Linked DNA regions of Homo sapiens: regions 2, 3 and 4 are each linked to region 1. The links are contacts of gene promoters, found by promoter capture Hi-C in blood cells and fetal thymus (Javierre and others, 2016). All regions are on one chromosome and are shown on one strand. The core of a region is centred on a gene start or on the middle of the fragment in contact, and the rest is flanking DNA. Distances in the headings are between cores, read along the strand shown. Region 1 holds the start of NBEAL1 (neurobeachin like 1). Region 2 has its middle 30 kb from the start of FAM117B. Region 3 has its middle 44 kb from the start of FAM117B. Region 4 overlaps BMPR2 (bone morphogenetic protein receptor type 2).

Region 1 (6,536 bases), core at 2,281-4,780:
AAACTAAACTACGATTTCAAGCTCACAAAGAGGTCTAAGAAGCTTTTGAAACTAAGTGGTAGAAAATATTTTCATAAGAAGATCTGAGTCCTCAAGTGGTCTGAAAGCTCATTAAAAGTGTGAAAAAAAAAAGCCTTAAAAGTTTGTCAGCTGGGAAAAAAAAAAAGTCAGCTGGTTTGAGAGGCTAAATGCTAGAGTGAGAATAATAAGGCAAAAAGTATAGAGAACAACTGGGTACAGTATTTGGTAGTCATCCTCATTAGAAAGAAGACTTAAATCTATGAGGTATATTTGGTAGCTACCTGATTCAAGGTGTCTGCAGAAGAGAATGTTGTCTACCTTACAAAAAGCTTATCCGTTAACTGGTAAAATATAAAATCACGGTTTTAAATAAATATTCTTTGAAAACAAGTGAAAAAATTTTAAATCGTATTAAGCACACAAATTATTTAAATATTAAACCTAAAAATGAGATTTATATTCCTGTCCAAGAAGAGATAGGCTTCAAAATCTGACAGTGAGGGGCCTTCATTATTGAGGATTAACATTTCAAAGGAGAAGGGATGCATGTTTATATTAAAAGCCATTAAGAATAAAATTCAGTGTATGCCAATGAACTATACTATCTGTTTAATAAGCTTTAATATTAAATTTAATAGTAAATATACCTAAAAAGAATGTAACTTATTAATGAGACACGTAACCCCATTCACCAATATCATTTTGAAAACAGTAAAACCTAGTAAGTTTGATGTATTTTTAAATAAATCATTTTCAAACTACTAGGTATTCATACTAAAAATTAATTTTAATTTTTGGTTAACGTGTTAGTGACTATTTTCAAAAGTGGTGAATTGGATTCCTTTTTTATTGGAAGCGTCTATTTTTAAAAAGACATTTCTGGTATTAAATTATGCAAGACTAAAAGCTATTTTAAAAATTCATATTAAGCATTTCAAAGTGTATGTCCTTTAGCAATTATAATATATATCAAACCAGGAAGTCAAAGAAAATTCCAGTGTAATCTCTAAATTTAATATGACAGATAAATGAGACCACTGTTAAATAATAATCTGCCTTTTAAGGAGCATGAAAGGATAATGCAGAAACAGAAGCTGTGACTTGAGAATTTCACCACACATACTTAAATTAACTCAAATAGTACATTAGGGGTGTTTCTCTGACCCTTGCCAGTATCTTCAAAGTAATAATGTACCTCCTCACTTGAAAAACATGTTTTTAAGGAGTACTCTTCTCAATAACCTAAAATCAAAGCTATCAAGTAAAAATTCACATAAAGACAAGGAGGGGAAAGAACATTATTTCTGAGTGACAAAAATATTAAGGAGTAAAAATGGATAAAAGTACGCACTTGAGTCAGGTAGTACTGTGTTTCTCGGCTACTCAGTACTCCTGTAACCCTTGCATCAGTTTTCCCATCAGTAAAAGGGGATGATCACAATATTCACCTCACAGTATTGTAGTGAGAAGGAAATGAGACAATGCTCAAAGAGTGCTAACTTAGTGGCAGTCACACAGCACGCAGTTCAATCAATAACCTTGTGATGCAATTTCAAAGGTTCATTCCAAGAAAAATGCTTAATGCCCTTCTCATAAAAATGTCTCTATCCTACACTCACTTGTGGGAGAAAATGAAAAGCACAAACAAAAATAAAAATATTTTATTTTTCTCTTAAGGGCATAATTTTACTTATATAATTTTAGGATCATTTGGGGATAAGTATCAAATAAAAGCCGCACCCTACAGTTTTTAACAGTATGCCAATATTGTATGTGTGTTCAAACCTGAAAAAGAGGAAAACAGAAAATCCTTTAAACGCTTTTAAGTTTGGGGTTATTCATTATGACTAAATACACTATTATCTATTAAATAAAGTGTTACTACTGCCAGTCACAAATTTTATAATAAAGTATTTTAAAACATAAAAATAAAAAGGAAAGCAATTACCTTTGTACAATAAAGCATCCAAAGTTCAAAGAGCCTCTCTCTGGATGCCATTCTGGCTTTCACTCTGGCACTTTAAGTTTTCCTTAAAAAAATTATGTTCAAGACTACAGCATGTCCATTTTATTTTCCAAGTTTTTCAGCCGTTCAGTAAAGCTCATAGCAGTAAAGAAAGCAAAAAGAAGTGAAACAAATGGACTGTCCTCTGGTTAAAAACAAAAAGGCAATTTCAGCAGTCACTCCAATATATCTTCATCAGTGGTAGTTGGGCAATTAAATAAATCTGTGAAAGAGAAAAACATCCACAGGTTAGAAAAAGAGGCCATACTAAAAAATCTAGACTTATCAAAAACTAAAGATGTATCTTCTTCACTTCCCACAAACAACCCGCTATACTTTCACATGGACTGATTAGATTTCATAGAAACTTGTGTTTCAGGAAAACATCACAGCTAACACAGTATGTCCACCATAGAATCCTCTAGGGCAGACAGACTCCTAGAGATGGGTACATGTTCATAACCAAGAATGCGTCCAGTGAGAATAAGGAGCAAGACTCCCTTCCCACTCATACCTTTTGTACAGATACAAGGAAAAGGCCCACATCTCAGACATTTCAAATACATCAAAGCTCTTAGAATGTTCTTGTTCTGGTCTCCTCTTCAAAGTTGTTGGGGCCAGGCGCGGTGGCTCACGCCTGTAATCCCAGCACTTTGGGAGGCCCAAGTGCGTGAATCACCTGAGGTCAGGAGTTCGAGACCAGCCTGGCCAACACAGTGAACCCCTGTCTCTACTAAAGAAATACAAAAAATTAGCCGGGCGTGGTGGCGGGCACCTGTAATCCCAGCTACTCAGGAGGCTGAGGCAGGAGAATTGCTTGAACCCGGGAGGCAGAGGCTGCAGTGAGCCCAGATCACGCCACTGCACTCCAGTCTGGGCGACAGAGCAAGACTCCGTCTGGGGTGGGGTGGGGGTGGAGTAGTTGGGACTGTTTGCTGTGTTGCAGGGCAGGGCGTGGGGGCGGGGGAGGAATTCCCAGTTCGTTTGTTCTAACAATCCTCGGAGAGTGGAAGTCCACCCGCCCACCTGGCCTCTCCACCTTTCCATCCAAGAGAAGTGGGCACGCACACACCGGCGAGGAACTTCCCAAAGAAGCATCCAAGTGTTTGGGGGAATCTTTTAATTTCCTCCTCACATCCCAAGACAACCCAAACAGAGGCAAACTTAAGGTGTGCCGAGCTGCCAAGAGAAGCTCTAGAACTGAGGAATGCGGACTCGGCGTCTCCCGACCGCGATCCCAGCCTGCACTACAGTATCGGAACACTCCCTGACAGCCTAGCCCACTCAAAGCCGCCCCTCACTCTGCAGCCCCTCCACCACCAAGCACCGGGGCCCTCCCATTTCTTGCCATGCCGCCCCCTCTTCCCAACGGCCCGCTCCCCATCACCGGGCTCACATTGTGTGCCGCGCGGCAGCCGCCGCCCGGCAGCCGTCTAACTGCTTCCCTCGACCCCTTCCCAAGGCGAAGCCCCGTGTCACCCCGCAGCCAGGCAGACGAGCGGGCGGGACATGGGGGCGGGGCGAGAGGCCGGGAGGAGCAGGGGGCGGGGCTGCCCCCTGGGCTAATCATTTCGGCCGCTGAGGATTTACCCAGCCGTTGGGCGGCAGCTGTTCAATGGTCGCGTAGGCTGGGGATGGGCGGGGTGACCTGAAGCCCCGCCCCAGCATACCTGCGCAGCCGCAGTCGACAGGCTCTGGCTGCCCATCCCTTGGCGGGCGCCGGCCGCGGCACTGAAACGAGCCTTCCCTCAGCTGGACATGGAGGAGGGCTGACGTGCTGACGTCTACGCCCGCCCCGCTTTTCGCTGATGGCGTCATTTCCGTGAGTCATCTGAGGGCGTGAGACCCTACGGTGTTAAAGGGGATTTTGTTTCACTTATTTGTAGAACCGGGATTGGTTCTGGGAATTTAGAGTAATGTAAAAAGACAAAACACACACAGACACCCCCCAAAAACTCCTCTTTTCCTTTTGTGCCTGCTTTCGTCGTCACCGAGTGTCATATCCAAAGGGCTTATTTTACCACCACTAAAGACTTCGAAAGGGTTTTTCTTTTTCAGAAAAGAAGCAAAAGGCTTTACTAACTATAGACAACTTTCAGAGAGATTTGGTTTTTGTATAAGGAAAGAAAAACGCGTAAGATAACTCACCTTTGTTAAACATTTCCACAACTTTTTATTGTGAAAGATTTCAAGTATATTCTAAAGTAAACTAGTATAACGAAACCCTGTATACCGTCACCCAACTTCAAAAATGATCAACTAATGTCCCATCTTGTTTCATTTGTAACAAGGATCCACAAATTGCCTGTGAAGAGCCAGAGACGAGGCGCAGTGGCTATCGCCTGTAATTCCAGAATTTTGGGAGGTCTAGGCGGGCGAATCCCTTGAACCCAGGAGATCAGCCTGGGCAACAGAATGAGACCCTGTCTCTGCAAAAGAAATTTTAATTAGCTTGGCGTGGTGGTGCACGCCTGTAGTTCCAGCTACTTAGAAGCTAAGGTGGGAGAATCGCTTGAACCTGGGAGTGAAGGTTGCAGTGAGCTCCGATGGCGCCACTGTACTCCAGCCTGGGCGACAGAGCGAGACACTGTCTCAAAAAATAAAAATAAAATAAAAAGAGCCAGACAATAAATGTTATAGGCTTTGCAGTCCATTCTGGTTGCAACTTGCTTAACGAAAATCAAAAGAACAATATTTTGAGATGTGAAAATTAGACGAAATTCAAATTCAAGTTTCAGTGTCCTAAAATTTTAGTGGAACACAACCATGCCCATTCCTTTAGTATTGCCTATAGCTGCTTTCACTCTACCATGGCAGAATTGAGAGTAGTTGCTTGCAAATTACACCTTCAATTTTTTATCCTGAAATTACATTTTACATTCAGCATTTCTCCTTGGTTGTCCATTAGGCATGTGAAATTTATATGTCAAAATTTTGGGGGGAAAATATGCTTTTCCTTTGGGATACCCTATTTTAGTACTTAGCAACTCTATTCTTGTACTTGCTCAGTACAAGAACCTAGGAAGTGTGCTTGCTGTCTTCCTCATGTACTTCACTTCCAATCTAATCTTTTCAGCTATATCTCCAAAATATACCTAACCATCTCTCCACACTTTCTTCCTTAAATGGATGGTGGTATAGTAGTAGTAACCACTATCTTTATTTCTTTTCCCTTTTTTTTTTTTAAATTAGAGGCAGGGGCTTCGTATGTCGCCCAGGCTGGTCTCGAACTCCTTGGCTCAAGGGAGCCTCCTGCCTCGGCCTTCTGAAGTGCTGGGACTCCAGGCGTCAGCCATTGCACCTAGCCGTGGCTACTGTCTTTAAAATGGTTTAAGTTATACAAAATACTTTCTAGTTTATTGTAATAGCCTTCCAACTTGTTTCCCTGACTCTGCCCGTGACTCTACCCCAAATCCGTGGATTATTCTCAACATAGCAAACACAGAGATCTTTTAACATGGAAGTAAGATGTCACTTCTCTGCTAAAAAGCCTCCAATGGCTTCCCATTCCACTTTAAAAGGCCTGCAAGGACCTACTTCATTTTCCTCCAACATTTTCCTCTCTGACTTCTCTAACTATTCTGGCCTTTCTTACCTTACTTGAGACATGACTTCTTTGCTGCTTTTCAAAGGCACAAAGCACACTCCAGCCTCAGGGATTTTCACATGCTAACCCTTCTACCTGGACATCTCTTTCCCCAGATGTCTGCACAAAATCTTTTTCTTTTTTTTTTTTGTTTTGAGACAGAGTCTCACTCTGTCACCTAGGCTGGAGTGCAGTGGTGTGATCTCGGCTCACTGCAACCTCCACCTCCCAGGTTCAAGCAATTCTCCTGCTTCAGCCTCCTGAGTAGCTGGGATTACAGGCGCCCACCACCACGCCTGGCTAATTTTTGTATTTTTAGTAGAGATGGGGTTTCACCATGTTGGCCAGGCTGGTCTCAAACTCCTGACCTCAGGTGATCTACCAGCCTTGGCCTCCCAAAGTGCTGGGATTACAGGTGTGAGCCACTGTGCCCGGGCTGCACAAAATCTTTAAGAACCACCTTATCCAGGCTGGGTGTAGTGGCACACACCTGTAATCCCAGCACTTCGGGAGGTTAAGGCAGGATTGCTTGAGGCCGGGAGTTCGAAACCAGACTGAGCACCACAGTGAGACCCCCACCTCTATAAAAAAATTAAGAAAAAAATTAGCCCAGTGTGGTGGTACTTGCCTGCAGCCCTACCTACTTGGGAGGCTGAGGCATGAGGATCACTTGAGATTAGTTCAAGGCTGCAGTGAGCTATGATCATGTCACTGCACTGCAGCTCGGGCAAAAGAGCAAGACCCTGTCTCTAAAAAAGTGAAATAAAATGAAAAGAATCACTGTATCCGTGAAGCATTCCTTGACCCTTCTTGCCAAAATAGCAACGTCTCTTCCTTCTCTTTCACTGTAGCACGTATCAGCTGATATTAATATATCATTTGTTTGTCCAGTGTGTGTTCCCCCTAATAAAATGTAAGCACCAT
Region 2 (6,264 bases), core at 201-2,700, 410 kb after region 1:
ATCCCTGAGATCATGGTTTCTCTTCCTTTTCAACCTTTCCTTCATGCTAAGGTAAGTGCTTTGTAAATGTTGAGTGACTGATGGCATGAAACAGTCATTGCAAGAAAGGTCTGTTAGAGGCAAAGTAATGTGACACTGGGCCTTGCCTTACTTTAAGTCCAGGTAACAAATAACTATGCATTCTGCAGCTTTGCAGATCAGGGTAATCTTCAGAATAAGTCAAGCCTTTGCTTCTGACAGAGCATCCTTTCAATGGCAGCCAGAAAACTGATCTCTTGATTCTCCATCCCTGGGTGTGTAGGCATGTAGACAGAAGAAAGCAAGGGATAGGCTGCCATGACATGTCTATGAGACTTTGCCAAGACACTGCAAAGCCAGTAACCCCCACAATGAGGAGAGGAGTTAGGCTGCAATTAACTCCTTGTCATCTGCTATAGCAAAGTCAGCAACATGGCAGCTTTCCCCTTCCTTTACCGAGAGAACACATTCTTCCTTCCAGATATCTCCTTGGATCTCTGATCCTGAGGACATCCTATGACCCCCCTCCTAATTCCAAAAGAAGCAAAAGGCCGGGCGTGGTGACTCATGCCTGTAATCCCAACACTTTGGGAGGCTGAGGTGGGCAGATCACAAGGTCAGGAGTTTGAGACCAGCCTGGCCAATATGGTGAAACCCCGTCTCTACTAAAAATACAAAAATTAGCTGGGCATGGTGGTGGGTGCCTGTAATCCCAGCCACTTGGGAGGCTGAGGCAGGAGAATTACTTGAACCCAGGAGGCAGAGGTTGCAGTGAGCCAAGATTGTGCCACTGCATTCCAGCCTGGGCAACAGAGCAAGACTCCATCTTAAAAAAAAAAAGAAGCAAAAGAAAATCAGATCCCTTCTCTCACCACTCCTATTCAACATAGTGTTGGAAGTTCTGGCCAGGGCAATTAGGCAGGAGAAAGAAATAAAGGGTATTCAGTTAGGAAAAGAGGAAGTCAAATTGTCCCTGTTTACAGATGACATGATTGTATATCTAGAAAACCCCATTGTCTCAGCCCAAAATCTCCTTAAGCTGATAAGCAACTTCAGCAAAGTCTCAGGATACAAAATAAATGTACAAAAATCACAAGCATTCTTACACACCAATAACAGACAAACAGAGAGCCAAATCATGAGTGAACTCCCATTCACAATTGCTTCAAAGAGAATAAAATACCTAGGAATCCAACTTACAAGGGACATGAAGGACCTCTTCAAGGAGAACTACAAACCACTGCTCAAGGAAATAAAAGAGGATACAAACAAATGGAAGAACATTCCATGCTCCTGGGTAGGAAGAATCAATATCATGAAAATGGCCATACTGCCCAAGGTAATTTATAGATTCAATGCCATCCCCATCAAGCTACCAATGACTTTCTTCACAGAATTGGAAAAAACTACTTTAAAGTTCATATGGAACCAAAAAGGAGCCCGCATCGCCAAGTCAATCCTAAGCCAAAAGAACAAAGCTGGAGGCATCACGCTACCTGACTTCAAACTATACTACAAGGCTACAGTAACTAAAACAGCATGGTACTGGTACCAAAACAGAGATATAGATCAATGGAACAGAACAGAGCCCTCAGAAATAACGCCGCGTATCTACAACTATCTGATCTTTGATCTGATCTGAGAAAAACAAGCAATGGGGAAAGGATTCCCTATTTAATAAATGGTGCTGGGAAAACTGGCTAGCCATATGTAGAAAGCTGAAACTGGATCCCTTCCTTACACCTTATACAAAAATTAATTCAAGATGGATTAAAGACTTAAACGTTAGACCTAAAACCATAAAAACCCTAGAAGAAAACCTAGGCATTACCATTCAGGACATAGGCATGGGCAAGGACTTCATGTCTAAAACACCAAAAGCAATGGCAACAAAAGCCAAAATTGACAAATGGGATCTAATTAAACTAAAGAGCTTCTGCACAGCAAAAGAACCTACCATCAGAGTGAACAGGCAACCTACAAAATGGGAGAAAATTTTCGCAACCTACTCATCTGACAAAGGGCTAATATCCAGAATCTACAATGAACTCAAACAAATTTACAAGAAAAAAACAAACAACCCCATCAAAAAGTGGGCGAAGGACATGAACAGACACTTCTCAAAAGAAGACATTTATGCAGCCAAAAAACACATGAAAAAATGCTCACCATCACTGGCCATCAGAGAAATGCAAATCAAAACCACAATGAGATACCATCTCACACCAGTTAGAATGGCCATCATTAAAAAGTCAGGAAACAACAGGTGCTAGAGAGGATGTGGAGAAATAGGAACACTTTTACACTGTTGGTGGGACTGTAAACTAGTTCAACCCTTGTGGAAGTCAGTGTGGCGATTCCTCGGGGATCTAGAACTAGAAATACCATTTGACCCAGCCATCCCATTACTGGGTATATACCCAAAGGACTATAAATCATGCTGCTATAAAGACACATGCACACGTATGTTTATTGCGGCACTATTCACAATAGCAAAGACTTGGAACCAACCCAAATGTTGAACAATGATAGACTGGATTAAGAAAATGTGGCACATATACACCATGGAATACAATGCAGCCATAAAAAATGATGAGTTCATGTCCTTTGTAGGGACATGGATGAAATTGGAAATCATCATTCTCAGTAAACTATCGCAAGAACAAAAAGCCAAACACCGCATAGTCTCACTCATAGGTGGGAATTGAACAATGAGAACACATGGACACAGGAAGGGGAACATCACATTCTGGGGACTGTTGTGGGGTGCGGGGAGGGGGGAGGGATAGCATTAGGAGATATACCTAATGCTAAATGACGAGTTAATGGGTGCAGCACACCAGCATGGCACATGTATACATATGTAACTAACCTGCACATTGTGCACATGTACCCTAAAACTTAAAGTATAATAATAATAAAATAAAATAAAATTAAAATTAAAAAAAAAAAATCAGATCCATAGTTGGTATCCAACTCTGTATGAGTGAGACATAGAGGGGAGGAGGTCTAGAGATTTGCGAAGTAACACTTGAAAGGGATCCAGCAGAAAATCTGAGTCATAGATCACCTTTAATCATTGTGCCAATTACTTCTTTGGTAGAATGACAAATGGAAAACAATCATTGAAACCATTGAAATAAGAACTAAATCATTCCAATTATAGCAAACAGAGCAGAGAAGGCCTGTTAACATTCACAGGAAAAGGTAGGGGTGATCAAATTCCATGAGGCTTAGGTATGGCTTTTACTTGGAAGGTAGAAAAAAATTAAATCCTTCATAATTCAGAAGGTAGAATCATAGGATTTTAGAGCCGAAAACATTTTTGAACTCATGTAATCCAAGTCTCATATTTTACAAATTAGGCAACTGAGGCCCAGGGAGGGAAAGTCACTTTCTAGAGACCACAGGAATGATAACAGAGCCAGGTCAGAGCTCTGGTCTCCTGCCTTTCTAATACATCCACTGACGAGAAAAGATGCCTATATCTGGGAAAGGCTCTCACGTTCAACTAAGGCCCAGGAAACATGAGTAAACCTGATAACTTGGTAGAAAGAGGAAGTTATCATACCTCCATTCCCTGTATACTGGGTCACAACACAACTGTCCCTGTTTTTCTCAAATTTTTCAGGTTCTCTGATTTGCATGTTGATCTCATGTTCAAGTGGGACAAAAAAAGCATGCGAAAAGAGAGAGAAAGAAAAAATGTAGCATAACGTAAAGCAGAAGCAACCTTCTTCACGGCTTAGCGGTGTTTAGTAGCAAACTAGGAATCAAGAGGACCTGGATTCTCCTGGCTCTAGCTCTGCCGCTTTGACAAGTCATTTAACATCTTTGTGCCTCAGTTTTCCTATCTGCAAAATGAAACCACTGTATAGTAAATGATTTCTAAGGTCTCTTTCATCACTAATATTTTAGAATAATATTAGAGCAATATTCAATCCTCATGATACTAATATAATTTTACCATATCCTAGATTAGAAAGATATATATAAAATAAGGGTGACGAGCAAATAGTTGATTGTGAATTCAATCGAACAAATATTTATTGTTCTTTGTTTGTTTTGAGATGGAGTCTCACTCTGTCGCCCAGGCTGCGGTGCAGTGGCATGATCTCGGCTCACTGCAACCTCTGCCTCCCGGGTTCAGGCGATTCTCCTGTTTCAGCCTCTTGAGTAGCTGGGACTACAGGCGTGTGCCACCGTCATTGCCTCAAATTTGATCCTGGGTCAAAGCAAAATGCCAGGAATCTGGAGTGCATCCTCATTGCTTTGCTATGAACATGGACATATCCGCGTGAGCATTTCTGTTAATTTGGGAAACCAAGGGCAAGAAGTGGCGTATGAAGTATGTGCTATATAATATGCAAAAAAAGAAAATGAAAGGATGAAATACTAGTATATAATTAAGAGACTCAATTGCAAAAACTCTTAACCTGAACACAAATTCTGAAAGTTAACTTTGTTCTAATATATTTCACCATTACTCTTCACCTTCATGTTACTAACAAACTTCCTGAAAGTTTTCTTCATCCTCTAATTCCACTCAACAAAATAACCTTTATTTTCTGGCTTTTCTAACTTACTTTTCAAACAACCAAGTTTCTCAAAGATTGCCTAACAAACAGCCCACTGACCTGTTCCTTCTGCCTCTCTTTGAAACCTGTATCACTGTTGCGCATCCATTCTTCCTTGAAATTTTGTCTTTTATCTCTTGTGGAGCATTTCCAGCACTATCCTAGTTCTCCTCCTGCCTTTTGCCTTTCTCTCATTTCTACTGTGTATTTTTTTTTTTTTTTTTTTTTTTTTGACACGGAGTCTCACTCTCTGTCGCCCAGGCTGGAGTGCAGTGGCGCGATCTCGGCTCACTGCAAGCTCTGCCTCCTGGGTTCACGCCATTCTCCTGCCTCAGCCTCCGGAGTAGCTGGGACTACAGGCGCCCGCCACCACACCCAGCTAATTTTTTTTGTATTTTTAGTAGAGACGGGGTTTCACCATGTTAGCCAGGATGGTCGTGATCTCCTGACCTCGCGATCCGCCCTCCTCGCCCTCCCAAAGTGCTGGTATTAGAGGCGTGTGCCACTGCGCTCGGCCCTACTGTGTATACTTTTTTGTTTATTTGAGACACAGTCTTGCTCGGTCCCCTAGGCTGGAGTGCAGTGGTGTGATCTCGGCTTACTGCAACCCCTGCCTCCTGGGTTCAAGTGATTCTCCTGCCTCAGTCTCCAGAGTAGCTGGTATTACAGGCTCGTGCCACCACGCCTGGATAATTTTTGTATATTTACTAGAGACGAGGTTTCACCATGTTGGCGAGGCTGGTCTATAACTCCTGACCTCAGGTGATCCACCCGCCTTGGCCTCGAAAAGTGCTGGGATTACAGGCGTGAGCCACCGTGGCCCCATTTCTACTGTGTATTCTTTGTTGGCTTTCTGTCCGTAAATATGGATCTTGTCCTTGAGCTTTTTTTTCAACCCTCACTATACATAGCAACCCCTCCTGGGAATCTCACGATATTCCCAGAGCTTAGACTCTCATTTCTGCAGAGGATTCTCAGTTCTAGAGACATTCTCAAGACTTATCAGAGGTGTAAACAAGGTACTTAATGCCAGCTACCCCTTCTATTGTAAGACTAAAATTTCAACTTCTGCTATTGTTGTATACTACCTACTTATGCAGGTATAGTGAGGCTAAATCTGTCACCACTCCATGTAACAACCAGGGGAGTGGCTGCATTTCACTTCACCAACAACAGTTTCAATGGCCATGCAGGTATATTATACAAAGTGAAAGCTTAGCTTGTAGAATCATGTACACAGCTAACCTCTAATTATTTTGTGTCTTGACGTAGATGTTGTCCTTTTATTCAAACGCTGCCTGTTTTGTGCATAAATCACCCAAGCTACAGAAGTAGAGGAAGGGCTGGACTAGAGGAATATAACTGGAGTGGTAGGCCCAGCCTCTAAAGAAATAACAGACTTTAGGAGAAAAACGCCTGCAGTCAATTCTCTCATGAATGAGACGTAAATAGGCACCCTGTGCTTCCAAAGCTAGAAATCACAGAGATCAGGACACTGAACACAGTCACCCTCCTTTCCTTTTGAGAACCCACTCTATTGTAAAATTTTCTCCCCAGGTTGGAGAATAGAGCTCAGAGCCTGTCTGATCATAAGTCTTAAACCAAGATGAATCATTCAATCATAATGTCATTGGCTTCAGCAATGTCCTATGATTAAGCAAAAGCCTTT
Region 3 (6,677 bases), core at 3,113-5,612, 420 kb after region 1:
ATTTTTTTTTTTTTTTTTCCTGAGACAGAGTCTCACTCTGTTGCCCTGGCTGGAGTGCAGTGGTGCAATCTTGGCTCACTGCAAGCTCTGCCTCCCAGATTCAAGCTATTCTCATGCCTCAGCCTCCCGAGTAGCTGGGATTACAGGCTTGCGTCACCACGCCTGGCTAATTTTTATATTTTTAGTAGAGACGGGGTTTCACCATGTTGGCCAGGCTGTCTCGAACTCCCGGCCTCAAGTGATCTACCCGCCTTGGCCTCCCAAAGTGCTGGGGTTACAGACTGAGCCACTGCACCCAGCCTCATTAACTTTGAAATAGATAAAAGGATATCATCTACTGCTTTCTTTGACAGGAGAGACTATAAGAATAAATAGCCCAGGGTTACTATTAGAAAAATTTTGGGTGAGAAACAGTACAAATAAATCTTTGTACAAATAAGACTGTGAAGGTGAAGGACACTGGGGTGAGTTTCTGAAGTTACTAGCACACAGCTCCGTACTTCTTGGCCTCAGTTAGCAGGGAGGCAGGGGCTTGATTTAGAGCGAATATTCCTGAATGCCTCTTCCCTTTGGTCCTAACATGCTAAAAGACTGACTTGAAACTCTTTTTGTTTAACCTTTCTTTACTCAAGCATGGCTTTCCTTTTCTACTTTTATTTCTCCTATCAAGTTAAAAGAAAAATGCATTAAAAAGAGAAGCCTCAGCCGGGAGCAGCGGCTCACGCCTGTAATCCCAGCACTTTGGGAGGCCAAGGTGGGCGGATCACAAGGTCAGGAGTTCAAGACCAGCCCGACCAACATGGTGAAACCCCGTCTCTACTAAAAATGCGAAAAGAAAATCAGCCGGGCGTGGTGGCGGCTGCCTGTAATCTCAGCTACTCGGGAGGCTGAGGCGGGAGAATTGCTTGAACGCTGGAGGCGGAGGCTGCAGTGAGCTGAGATAACGCCACTGCCCTCCACCCTGGGCGACAGTGTGAGAATCCATCTCAAAAAAAAAAAAAAAGAGAGAAGCTTCTATGCAGACAACCAAGCTGAGTGTATGATGATTCTGAGTACCCCATTTGCTTGGTGATGCTTATATAATGAAAGTTTATTTGGGGTTTAAGGTAAGCCAGTTTTGTTTAGTTTTGGGTAGTCATTTATCCCATGAATAAGTATTGGAACCTTATTTAGATACAGGTTTCAGTGAGAGATGTGGGCATGGAGAATGGAGAAATAAGGTAACCATGGACTTCCTATGGAAGAAGACAAAAGTGTGCACCACTGGAGAGGGCAGAAAAGCTGCCCTACGTCAGAGTCTTAGACAGGGATGGCTCACCTCTCAAGTTCCCCTCCTCTCAATTCCACAATGCCAAGCTTTTCCTCTAGGCTCTTATATTCACATTATGTCTGCGACGAAAGTTCTTACAGCAGGTACAAACCAAAGATTACAAAGATTAGGAAGGTAATATAAATGGGTAAATCTAGTTGGATTAAGACAACTGGAAGTTGCTGGGTTTGGGGAAGGTCCAGGTCCCACCTAAAAGGCATTCAGATAAAAACAAATGTTAAATACTCTGCAGGCCAAACAAAACACAGCTGGCTGGCTAAATTTAGCCCTATGCTCATCATGCTTTCCTCCTTTCTTAGAGAATAGAGCTTAAAGTATTCCTCTTGTATGCAGATATGTATATGATACAGAAAATCAGAAGTAATTGAGAGGGAGGACTAGATAGAGCATGGTTTACTGAAATTCTACATACCTTAGGAGAGACTATTTCCATAATTTTATTCAAACTGTGAATTGAAGAATCTTGGTTCTGGTTCCTTGTTTTATTTTCACTTTTTTTTTTTTTTCTGAGAGAGTCTCACTCTTGTCACCCAGGTTAGAGTGCAGTGGTGAGATCTCAGCTCACTGCAACCTCTGTCTCCCGGGTTCAAGAGATTTTCCTGCCTCAGCCACCTGAGTAGCTGGGATTACAGGTGTGCACCACCATGCCCAGCTAATTTTTTTGTATTTTTAATAGAGACGGGGTTTCACCATGTTGGGCAGGCTAGTCTCAAACTTCTGACTTCAAGTGATCCTCTCGCCTTGGCCTTCCAAAGTGCTGGGATTACAGGCATAAGCCACCGCACCGGGCCTGGTTTCTGGTTTTAATTCTTCAAATCTGCTTTGGGATGAGAAATATAAACTATTTCTGCGTAAATCCCTTTGAAAGGGTGGACTTCCTCCCCCCCATCACCCCAATAGGTTGAAATTTGATTGCTGAGTCAGATATAATCCATGATACTTTAGCACTCCCCAGATTATTTGGAGGTATTTTGATTTATCAGGATAGATACAGTCATGTCTCATTCTTTCCTTTTTTTTATTTTTTTTTTTTGAGATGGAATTTCGCTTTTGTTGCCCAGACTGGTATGTAATGGTGCAATCTCGGCTCACCACAACCTCCGCCTCCCAGGTTCAAGCGATTCTCCTGCCTCAGCCTCTCGGGCAGCTGGGATTACAGGCATGCACCACCATGCCCAGCTAATTTTGTATTTTTAGTAGAGATGGGGTTTCTCCATGTTGGTCAGGCTGGTCTTGAACTCCCGTCCCCAGGTCTGCCTGCCTCGGCCTCCCAAAGTGCTGGGATTACAGGTGTGAGCCACCGTGCCCAGCCTTTCCTCATTATTTCATGTTCATCTTTAGTAAAGCAGCTATCAGTAGCTTCACTTGCCACCTAAAACTTCCAATATACGTTCTTATAACTGGAGAACTTTCAGTCAGTTTATACATCTAGAGGAATCTTTTTTAATTTTTTATTTTTGAGACAGAGTCTCACTCTGTCACCCAGGCTGGGGTGCAGTGGTGCAATCTCAGCTCACTGCAAACTCTGCCTCCTGGGTTCAAGCATTTCTCCTGCCTCAGCCTCCTGAGTAGCAGGGACTACAGGCACATGCCACCACGTCCGGCTAATTTTTGTATTTCTAGTAGAGATGGGATTTCACCATGTTGGCCAGGATGGTCTTGATCTCCTGACCTTGTGATCCACCCACCTCAGCCTCCCAAAGTGCTGGGATTACAGGCATGAGCTAACATGCCCGGCCATCTAGAGGAATCCTAATGAAAAATTAAAGACTCAAAAAGCTTTATAGTAATAGGAAAATAGTACCTGTTTGTTTTTATTATGATAATATACAAAGAGACACTGAAGCCTCTTCAACAATTCTGAATGTAAGAAAGCAATTTTTAGGTAGAAAGTATCAGAGAAGAGAAAATAAGGAGAAAAAGTAATTAGAAATTGTTTCCTCAAAAAATTAAGTATCAGCTTGGCATTATGCTTATGCCTATAATCCCAGCACTTTGGGAAACTAAGGTGGGAGGATCACTTGAGGCCAGGGGTTCAAGACCATCCTGGGCAACATAGTAAGACCCCATCTCTTTAAAAAAAAAAAAAAAAAAGAGCCAGGCATGGTGGCATGTGTCTGTAGTCCTAGCTACTTGGGAGACAGAGGTGAGAGGATCACTTGAGCCCAGGAGTTTGAGGCTACTGTGAGCCCTGATCATGCCACCGCACTCCATCCTCGGCAACAGAGTGAGACTCTGTCTTTTAAAAAATAAATAGGCTGGGTGCAGTGGCTCACGCCTGTAATCCCAGCACTTTGGGAGGCAGAGGCAGGTGGATCACAAGGTCAGGAGCTGGAGACCATCCTGGCTAACACGGTGAAACCCCATCTCTACTAAAAATACAAAAAATTAGCCGGGCGTGGTGGCACACGCCTATAGTTCCAGCTACTCTGGAGGCTGAGGCAGGAGAATGGTGTGAACCCGGCAGGTGGAGCTTGCAGTGAGCCGAGATGGTGCCACTGCACTCCAGCCTGGGCGACAGAGTGAGACACTGTCTCAAATAAATAAATAAATAAATATCAAACTAGTCAGCTTCTTGTAGCAGAGAGCAGAGGGGAGGGTAGATCTGGAGAGGAAATATGAAATATCCAACAGCCATGAGTAGAAATTGATATGGGAAAGAGGAACAGGAAGATCAGTGATGGCTGACTAGAAACATTGGATGCCAGTTCTCCTCAGAGAGAAGAACCAAAGGTGAATAATCATGGCCCAAGTGGAATACTGATCGAAGAGTGACAGAACCCACAGGAAGAAGTTGGGGCACAGAAAAAAGAGGGAAGCAAGAGTTTGGCAGAGATAATACCCAAGGGACTTGCAGTCCTGTGGAAAGGGTAGGTGGGGATGTTTTTAGCTCATTTCACTCACCCTTGCTGCAGCAGACTGCTGGTTTCCAAACTGTTGAAGAGCCCCTCTACCCTCTTGAATTGGCACCAGTATGAGCAGTGATTTGAGAACTTCTTGCGGGCAGAGCACCAGGTTGCCAGCTCATGCAGGATTGCTCACCCTGCCCGTAGACCCGAGCTGAGGTGGTGGGTGCCATACTGGTTGTGCACCCATTGAGGGCCTCTGTCCTGCCCAAGGAGTCTCAGCCCTTGTGTTGCTGCATTACTGGATCCCCTGTAAACATTCCCTTGCACCTCCTCAGGCTGTAGCAACCACAAAGGGCCAGTGGGATCCAGGGGGAGCTGTGGCGTTGCTGGAGGTGTAACCCTCAGGGCAAACTGTCCATAGGGGAAGGGAGTGTACACCGTGCCAAAGCACCCCTTGGGACAAAGGAGACGAGAGTACAGGGTCTCCTGTGCCTGAGAGCTCCCTGCTTGCGCACTGAAGGTGACTGTGCCCCTTGCAGCAGAGGCAGGTGTGGTGCTGGAGGAGTGTGTTTCAACCCCAGTGGGCAGGCAGCATTGGTGCTCAAGAAGGGACACAGAGAGGGGGACTTCTCCCCTACAATCATTGCTGTGTACATAGCCAGGCTGTTCCTGTGGGGGGTTGGCACAGGTGTGCCTATGGATGGTCAATGCAGGGCTATTAGGGGTGGGTGCACCCCAACTGGCAGTGTTCCCACCACCCCAGGCCCGGCTTGCATGAAGAGTAGGGCCCCTCTCCCTCTCTACATGGAGCAACAGTTTTCCTGCAGTAGAGATCAACGAAGCCACAAAGTTGTCTGTGTTCAGCTGAGGGAAGAGGTTCCCACGGGAAGCCGTTTCAGTGGAGGGCTCTGGGACAGGCATTTCTGTGGCCCTCAGCTATATTGCAGCCTAGAGACAAACGACATTGCCTATTTCAGGGTCACAAAGCCTCGGGACAGGGGTGTGATTGGGAGGCAGATGGCATTCCTTCTTGGTCAGGACATAGAGCTGGTGCAGCCCTCTCTGCCTGTGATGGAAACCTCAGCGCTTTTCACCACAAGCCCCCGACCAGCCTCATCAGGGTTTGTGCTTCCACTGTCATTGGGGTATCCGAAGGTGAGCTTAGCAGTCCAGCTGCACCCAGCTTCGTCTTCCTTTCCTGGGGTAAGTAGAGAACTCAGGGCACCCAGCATTCCACAGATCAGTCCACCCACAGATCAGCCCACCGCCTGAGACAACAGACAGCCCCTCCCAGTAAACAAAGATTAAGCACGCACACACCCTGGGCATCTGGCTCTTACCCGTATTCGCCACCTGCTGGTCTAGAGACGGAACTGCACAACCCAATACAAAACCTTTTGACCGAAGTGCACAGCGCTATGAACCAGGTAAGCTTCCTGAGACCTCCACAGTCTCAGCTCTGCAGAAGGTAGTGAGCCTGCTAATATGCCCAGCACAGTGTTACTACAACCAGCACTTGAGAAAGCCACTGCACAAAGGCTAACTATAACCAAGGAATTCATACAGAACTTTGGCACCCTGACAGCACCCAGAATTGAAGCCAAACAACCATTCACAACATACATTACAGTCACACCCTTGAAGGGGATAATTCTTTTAAAAGTCCCATGCAATGAAAAGTAAATTCAAAAACAAGTAGTGAGAGATTCTCCAGATGAGAAAGAACCAATGTAAGAAGTCTGACAGTATGAGAAAACAGAGTATTTCAACAACCTAAAAAGATTACATTAGCTCTCCAGCAAAAGATACTAACCAAAATGAAAATTCTGAAATTACAGACAAAGAATTTTCAAAATATATATTGTAAGGAAGTTCAATGAGATCCAAGAAAAGGTGAAAAAAACAACATGAAAAAATTAGAGAAACAATACAGGATATGAATGAAAAATTTACAAAAAAGAAGAAAATTTACTAAAAAGATAGATATTTTAAAAAAACAGAACTTCTGCAAATGAAAAATGTATTATAGGAATTACAAAACACAGTTGAAAGACTTAGAAATAGACTAGACCAAGCAGAAGAAAGAAATTTAGCAGAAGAAGACAGGTCTTTTAATTTAACCCAGTCAGACAAAAATAAAGAAAAAAGAATTTTTAAAAATGAGCAAAGCCTTCAAGAAATATGGGAATATGTAAAGTGGCCAATCCTATAAATCATAGGTATTCCTAAGAGAGAATAAGAAAAAGTAAAAATCTTTTGTTTGTTTTTTTTTTTGAGATGGAGTCTCACTCTGTCACACAGGTTGGAGTGCAATGGCATAATCTCGGCTCACTGCAATCTCCACATCCTGGGTTCAAGCCATTCTCATACCTCAGCCTCCTAAATAGCTGGGATTATAGGCATGCACCACCACACCTGGCTAATTTTTGGATTTTTTTTTTGAGATGGAGTCTCACACTGTCGCCTGGGTTGCAGTGCAGTGGCCCAATCAGGGCTCA
Region 4 (6,782 bases), core at 3,332-5,831, 450 kb after region 1:
AGTGTTCATTGAGAGGCCTGAAGCATACTGAAGACTAAGAATATTGGGGATGATGACCAACTGCTCTTTTTTGTCCTACTGGGTAAAAGAAAAAAATTTAAAATCAAAGAGGAGGGAGACAGAATAGATATGAAGAAAACTTTCCTGACACAGACTACAAATCAGATAACTGAGGTTTGGAGTAAGTCAGACATAAACTATGAGGTGATTTTTTTTGTTTTTTTTTGAGATGGAGTCTCACTCTGTAGCCCAGGCTGGAGTGCATTGGCGCGATCTCGGCTCACTGCAACAACCTCCGCCTCCCGGGTGCAAACGATTCTCCTGTCTCTGCCTCCCGAGTAGCTGGGACTACAGGCGCGTGCCACCATGCCTGGCTAATTATTTGTATTTTTAGTAGAGATGAGGTTTCATCGTGTTAGCCAGGATGATCTCAGTCCCCTGACCTCGTGATCCACCGTCTCGGCCTCCCAAAGTGCTGGGATTACAGGCGTGAGCCACCGCGCCCAGCCTAACTATGAGGTGATTTAAGGAAAGTAATGGGAAGGTGCACTTAAATGCCCTGTGATTCCCTCTTTTCTTTATGTTAATCTGGAAACTTGTAGAAAAGCCTTCTCTTGATAACAAATTTTATGTAACTAGCTCAAACAGTGATTTGCCAGATTTACTTAATCAAGGAATATATTTAGGAGGGAATCATGCAAGATAGTTTTGGGTAAAGTTTGCACAGTTCATAATCTAAAAGTTAAAATGCAACCTTATATGCTGGAGAGTAAACTGCCAGTAACAGTACATTTAGAAACATTGCATTCTGAAAAAGTCTCCTGGGGTTTATGTGGGAGTGTTACAATTTCCAGAATGACTGGTCTAGATAATCAACATGTGTGTCCGGATTTTAACTTTAAGAAGTTAGATGGGAAGATAAAGCAATATATGAAGCAATCTGTGAATAGTTACATAATAACCTGCACATAACAGGTAGTAAGTTCAACATAACTTTATAAAATGTTGTATGGAAATATAATCTCAAATTCTAGGAGTTAATGATCTCCAATAAAATATTCATGTCCATAAATATGAAAAAAGGAAAAGCTCATTGAAATATTTTTCCATTTTAAATGACTTTCAGGAGGCACTTACAAAGACTAGAAATTTCAGTGTAACAGCTACAGCCTACCAATTCCACTTGGCTGTAGAAGTCAAATTTGAAAATAATTTAAATAAAAATACTTGCCAATGTTTTGTGATAATTCCCACTGAAGCCCACACTTACTTGAGTGTTCCTTTCTCTCTTTAAATATTTTCACATTCAGAACCAATGCACATTTTCTGGAACAAGTGGATACATGTAAAGAAGCTATACTAAACTTTTATAAAAAGGACATTATATCCTTGTATCCTTCCTATATCCTACTCAATTAGTTCTATAGATTAGTAAATTTTCTAAAGTTATTAAAAGCAGAAGTTTTGAAGATGGATTCAAAGGATTGATGAGACTGAAATTCTTTGTTAATTCCCCCAAATCTGCTATGGAATCAATTTAGGGAAAGGTCTCTGTTCCCAAAGCTATCTTAACTTTTTCCGTAAAATTTACTTTACCATTAGTTCTGCAATGTAAGAAATGTTAGGAGTGAAGTGAAATGATTTTAAGATTCATGATGGAAGATACAGGATTGAGTTTTGTCTAGAATTAGTAATTATTTCTCAAGCAACAATCAGCATAGATATGTCTACATATCTCATATTTGCCTAACTTCCCAAATCATTAAGGTATGTGGTTTGGCTCATATACAAATGAAAATTGTGCCAGAGTATAGTGACTGAATTTTTATGTTTTTTTTTTGAGGCAGTCTTGCTCTGTCGCCTAGGCTGCAGTGCAGTGGCGCGATCTCAGCTCACTGCAACCTCCACCTCTCGGGTTCAAGAGATTCTCCTGCCTTAGCCTCCTGAGTAGCTGGGACTACAGGCGCCCACCACCACGCTCAGTTAATTTTTAAAAAATATTTTTAATAGAGACGGGGTTTCACCATCTTGGCCAGGCTGGTGTTGAACGTCTGACCTCATGATCCACCCGGCTCGGCCTCCCAAAGTGCGGGGATTATAGGCATAAGCCACTGCACCTGGCCTGAACTTTTTAAATAAACGTTAGCCCATTACACATCCTGTCATATGGCATGTAGGCAGTGTGGTATGGATGAAAGAGATGTGGAGAGAGGCAGACATAGACTGAAATCCCAGCTTTGTCTGTTACTAGATGTGGACCTTGGGCATATTACTTAGCTTCTCTTAGCTTCAGTTTCCTCATCTGTAAAATGGGAATATTAATTACAATGCTCATATGGTTGCTCTGAGGTTTAAGAGAAATAGCATATGTATACTTCAGCATTCAGTATGTGCCTTCTTGTAACTTCCTACACTGGTAACAGTGGGTTTTTTTTTTTGCCAATTATGCATTTAGAAAGTTTTAAGAATTTACAATTAAATCATTTTTGTCTAAACGTAATTCAAATCAAGTTCTTTCAGTGACCTAATTCTGGTATACAGTTAGGATTTTGTTAAGGGAACTAATATTAGACTTTACCTATTATGATGCTTTTAAGGTTACATTACCATCCAGTGAAATAAATTTTAATATTTTTAGTTGAATGATCTTTTATTCAAAAGGACCCCACTTTTCTACATATAAAACTTTGTGATAGCAGTTAAATGTCAACTTTAAGAAGCATTTATTATCAGATGAGTATTAGCATACAATTAAGTCATTTAAAATAATTTTGCTTGCTTGTATATTACAGATTTTAAAAGTCTGATGTACAATTTAAAATTTATAAAAATGATATATACTTTCCACCTTTCCTACTTTTTCAGGAGTTTACTAAGAAAAACTGGTGAAAGGAAATTATTTGTTTTAAACATGCTTGAATGAAATAGTAAACTATTCAGTTATTTTAATCTGGCATATTAATTTTTAAAGCATTTTATCATAATTTTCCCAATATTAAAAAATGTTGGACAACCTACAATCAACTGGCCCAAATACAAATATAGCAGAACGTAAGATAACTCTTCTGGCAGGAAAAGATCAGTTAGACCTCAAATGGTCATTTATCCTCAATGCTTCAAATTGGAGAAGGAACATAATTTATTTTGATTCAAAGTTGTCCTACAAATATTTGAAAAGAATATCCTAAAATGCATGTGAAAGATATTTAAGGGCAAGAGAACTAAGTGAAAATGTACTAGGAAAGATAAAAATAATTTGTTAATAGAAGAATAATAACTGTGAAAAAAATTACGTGCCAGAAGACTGAAAATAGATTAAGGGGCTGAATAAAGAAAAGGGCCAATAAAACACAAAACGTGGAAATCCTGGGCACTAACAAGATATTCTTAATTCTATGAATCCAGAACTGTGTTCAGCAATCCAGCTGAATAAATGGTAGGTATAGTAACATCTAACTTGTAAGATCACAGCACATGGCAAATGAGAAGGCTTATATACAAGTAAATCACAAATATTTTGGACAGAAAATTGGGAAATTTAGGCTGTCTTTAGCTAAGTGATAAGATAGAGGAATATGAGTGAGAAAATATTGTTCAGGAGATAAAAACATAAATCAGAAATTTGGTGATTTGTGTTTTCCTCTTAACCTTTTAATCCCTGGAACTATCTTAGAACTAAACTATATAACATTTACTAAGTACTCTGATAATCGAAAAAAAAGTAAAAAAAAGTGAAATCATCAGTTTGCAAATTAATAGAAAATAATTTCTGTTTAGAAAAAAGTCCATTATTTGACAGAAAGTGCTTTATTTAAAAAAAACATGCAGAGGTTGTTTTAGAGGAGATTATAAGTAATGAAAGAAGCAAAGGGCTTTTAAAAATAATATGATTTCAAGTCATTTTATTACTAAAAGGTATACTCTAATGTAAATAATAAATGTTGCTCACATATCAAAGATAATGTGAAAAACTGGCAAAAGGAAAAATTATGAAAATAGGATTAAGGAAGATAACACAATTTTGAAAAGAGAGAAGTTTAGTCTCAGTTTGCTCAAAAAAGGTAGGTTTGATAGCAGCCCTTCCTTCATAGGGACTTGGCATGCCACTTGAATGATTTTTCCTCACAGTGTTTTAGGTCATGGGAAGAGGAATCATTTTCAGATAAAGTCACCAGTCTTTGCTTGGGAACAGGGTAAAAGATACTATAGGTTCAGAACTATAAATTACTTCTGAAGTTATAATAAACAGTAAGGGTAATTTTATGAGTCAAAGATGGCCTATTCAGAGAATGAAGGCTATAACACTATTTTGTCTTAACCATTTATTTACCTACTTAAAAATTCCATAAGTGTAGCTCTATAAGCTTACCAATAAAAATGTATTTCTTAAATAAATGAACATGGAACATGAACCTACATAGAAAAATAAAATAAAATGGGAAATGGCTAATATTTGATGTCCTGTATTTTGTTCTATTCTCTCTTATGAACTCCCAAAACCAGAAGCAAATAAGTTTATTAAGATGCCTTGAAGGAAACATTTAGGATTTGGAAGGTTAAAAGAAATGGCATTTCAAGTCAGGTTTTGGTAGTTCCTTCTTTAGAGCCCTTTCAGACAATGTTTCTGTATTCTCCATGATAAGGAGAGAGAAAGTAAGAAATCAGGTAGCTGCTTCTCCTGTGCAAAATTCACTGTCATAGAACTGACCTTCAAAAGTATGGGAGATGGGGCAGAAAAGTGTTTATATTATGGAAGAATATGTGCCCTGTTAGGAAGAGAGCTTACAAGAAAGCTTATTTGTGGCCTATAAACTATTGCACATTCAAACAAAACACAAGAGAAAAGATGTCCAACAAGATAATATGTTCAGGAACGTATCAACATAAAAACTAGCTTGTGCCCAGAAATAAAACATGGATACCAGACACCACTGCAGTCAAACCTGTCTTAATTTGCTTCTGTTTTAATGACCTTAAGAAACTGGTCCAAACTGATTATCAGCAATACATTGTTTTTGCTTTTTTTCTTAAAAAAATATTTTGAGACCACTTTTGATACACACACATATAACTCTGTGGTCATAACAGACAAATATAACTTTAGCGAGACTAAACAAAAGTGCAAAACTTAAAAAACAAAATTTAAAAATATGGAAGCATAAGCTAAATTTTTCTGCATAGCTGAAATCTATTTAAAGCAAGTCTTTGTTGCAGGGGTGGGAGGGGGTGCTGACAGGAGGATAAAGCAGTTTTTTTTTTATTTTTAAACATCTTCTGCATGTTTAAATGATGCAAAAAATAATTTCACTCCATAGGCTTGAAAACATTTCACAGACAGTTCATTCCTATATCTTTAGACACCATGGTTGTAGCAGTGCCTCCTTCTGCAAGGTAAACAGCAGTGCTGGATTTGGAATGAACTGCCCTGTTACTGCCATTATTGTTGACTTCACAGTCCAGCGATTCAGTGGAGATGACCCAGGTGGAGGGGCGCCACCGCTTAAGAGAATAGGGAGTTTTCACACGTTTCTTGATCTTTTCACCTGATCCTGATTTGCCATCTTGTGTTGACTCACCTACTGAAAATAAAAGTGCAGAAAAATGAGCTATTTAACAAACTTAAGAAATAACGGGTAAGGGATGTAACTCAAGAAAAGGTCAAACCAATGTCTCAGGAGGGTGCTAATGAACATTTCTTGAAATTCATAATGCCAGACAATGTTTTTCCAGGAAAAGCTTAACCAACTTATTTTTGAGACTCTTTAACCCAAATGTTTTAATAACTGATTGACTTATTTTATAAGGCAAGGGAAAACACACACACACAAAACACAGGAGAACATTTAAACTTCTCAGCTGTATTCTCAAATCTTCTGGTTTTGGTAGCGATCTTAACTTGGTAAAATGTACTTAATTATTGTATTTAATTGTATTTAATGCTCAAGGTGGATCAAATTTTTTTTTTTTTTTTGGGGGATGGAGTCTCACTCTGTAGCCCAGGCTGGAGTGCAGTGGCATGATCTTGACTCACTGCAACCTCTGTTTCCCGGGCTCAAGTGATTCTCACGCCTCAGCCTCTCAAGTAGCCGGGACTACAGGCGCATGCCACCATGACCAGCTAATTTTTTGTATTTTAGTAGAGACGGGGGGTTTCACCATCTTGCCGAGGGTGGTCTCAAACTCCTGAGCTCAGGCAATGTGCCCGACTCAGCCTCCCTAAGTGCTGGGATTACAGGTGTGAGCCACCATGCCCAGCCTGGATCAAATTTTAAAGGCACCTGGCATACAATATTTTTCAGAAGAATAACAGAAATATTAGAGTACAAACATTCTAATAATTTCCTCTTCCTATATCTGACAAGATTTTTTTTTTTTTTTTTTTGAGATGGAGTTTCATTCTTGTTGCCAGGCTGGAGTGCAATGACATGATCTCGGCTCACCGCAACCTCTGCCTCCCAGGTTCAAGCAAGTCACCTGCCTCAGCCTCCCAAGTATCTGGGATTACAGGCATGTGCCACCACGTCTGGCTACTTTTGTATTTTTAGTAGAGACCGGGTTTCTCCATGTTGGTCAGGTTGGTCTCGAACTCCCGACCTCAGGTGATCCGCCCGCCTCAGCCTCCCAAAGTGCTGGGATTACAGGCGTAAGCCACCATGCCTGGCCTATCTGACACGATGTCTTACTGACTCAGAGCCCTGCAATAAAGGTCTGTCAACTGATCTGTAATACAAGCCACTCAAGCAAGGGGCTAAATTTTCCTGATTGTGTTTTGAGACCTGTAT

Evidence for each region. Contacts are between HindIII fragments. The CHiCAGO score rates a contact against its expected background, and 5 or more counts as called.
Region 2: a contact is called between a fragment that was not itself captured here and the fragment with the promoter of NBEAL1 in region 1, in 1 of 17 cell types (neutrophils). The highest score is 6.0, in neutrophils.
Region 3: a contact is called between a fragment that was not itself captured here and the fragment with the promoter of NBEAL1 in region 1, in 3 of 17 cell types (neutrophils, endothelial precursors and monocytes). The highest score is 6.8, in neutrophils.
Region 4: a fragment that was not itself captured here is called in contact with the fragment with the promoter of NBEAL1 in region 1 in 1 of 17 cell types (total B cells); the score reaches 5.8 in total B cells.

What each region holds. Positions count from the first base shown.
Region 1 is chr2:203,011,869-203,018,404 of GRCh38, reverse strand. It overlaps NBEAL1 (neurobeachin like 1), which reads right to left and starts at 3,530. Exons shown (of 56, transcript NM_001378026.1): 1 at 3,423-3,530; 2 at 1,970-2,249. The coding sequence starts at 2,020. RefSeq lists silencers at 1-139, 3,429-3,658 and an enhancer at 3,297-3,850. The HindIII fragment of the contact is 7,356 bases long and covers 641-6,536 here.
Region 2 is chr2:202,602,167-202,608,430 of GRCh38, reverse strand. No RefSeq gene overlaps it. Among named protein-coding and RNA genes, the nearest start is that of FAM117B, 30 kb to the left of the region's middle. The HindIII fragment of the contact is 8,722 bases long and covers 1-5,811 here.
Region 3 is chr2:202,587,675-202,594,351 of GRCh38, reverse strand. No RefSeq gene overlaps it. Among named protein-coding and RNA genes, the nearest start is that of FAM117B, 44 kb to the left of the region's middle. The HindIII fragment of the contact is 2,502 bases long and covers 3,112-5,613 here.
Region 4 is chr2:202,558,493-202,565,274 of GRCh38, reverse strand. It overlaps BMPR2 (bone morphogenetic protein receptor type 2), which reads right to left. Exons shown (of 13, transcript NM_001204.7): 13 at 1-5,579. The coding sequence ends at 5,329. Among named protein-coding and RNA genes, the nearest start is that of FAM117B, 73 kb to the left of the region's middle. The HindIII fragment of the contact is 429 bases long and covers 4,367-4,795 here.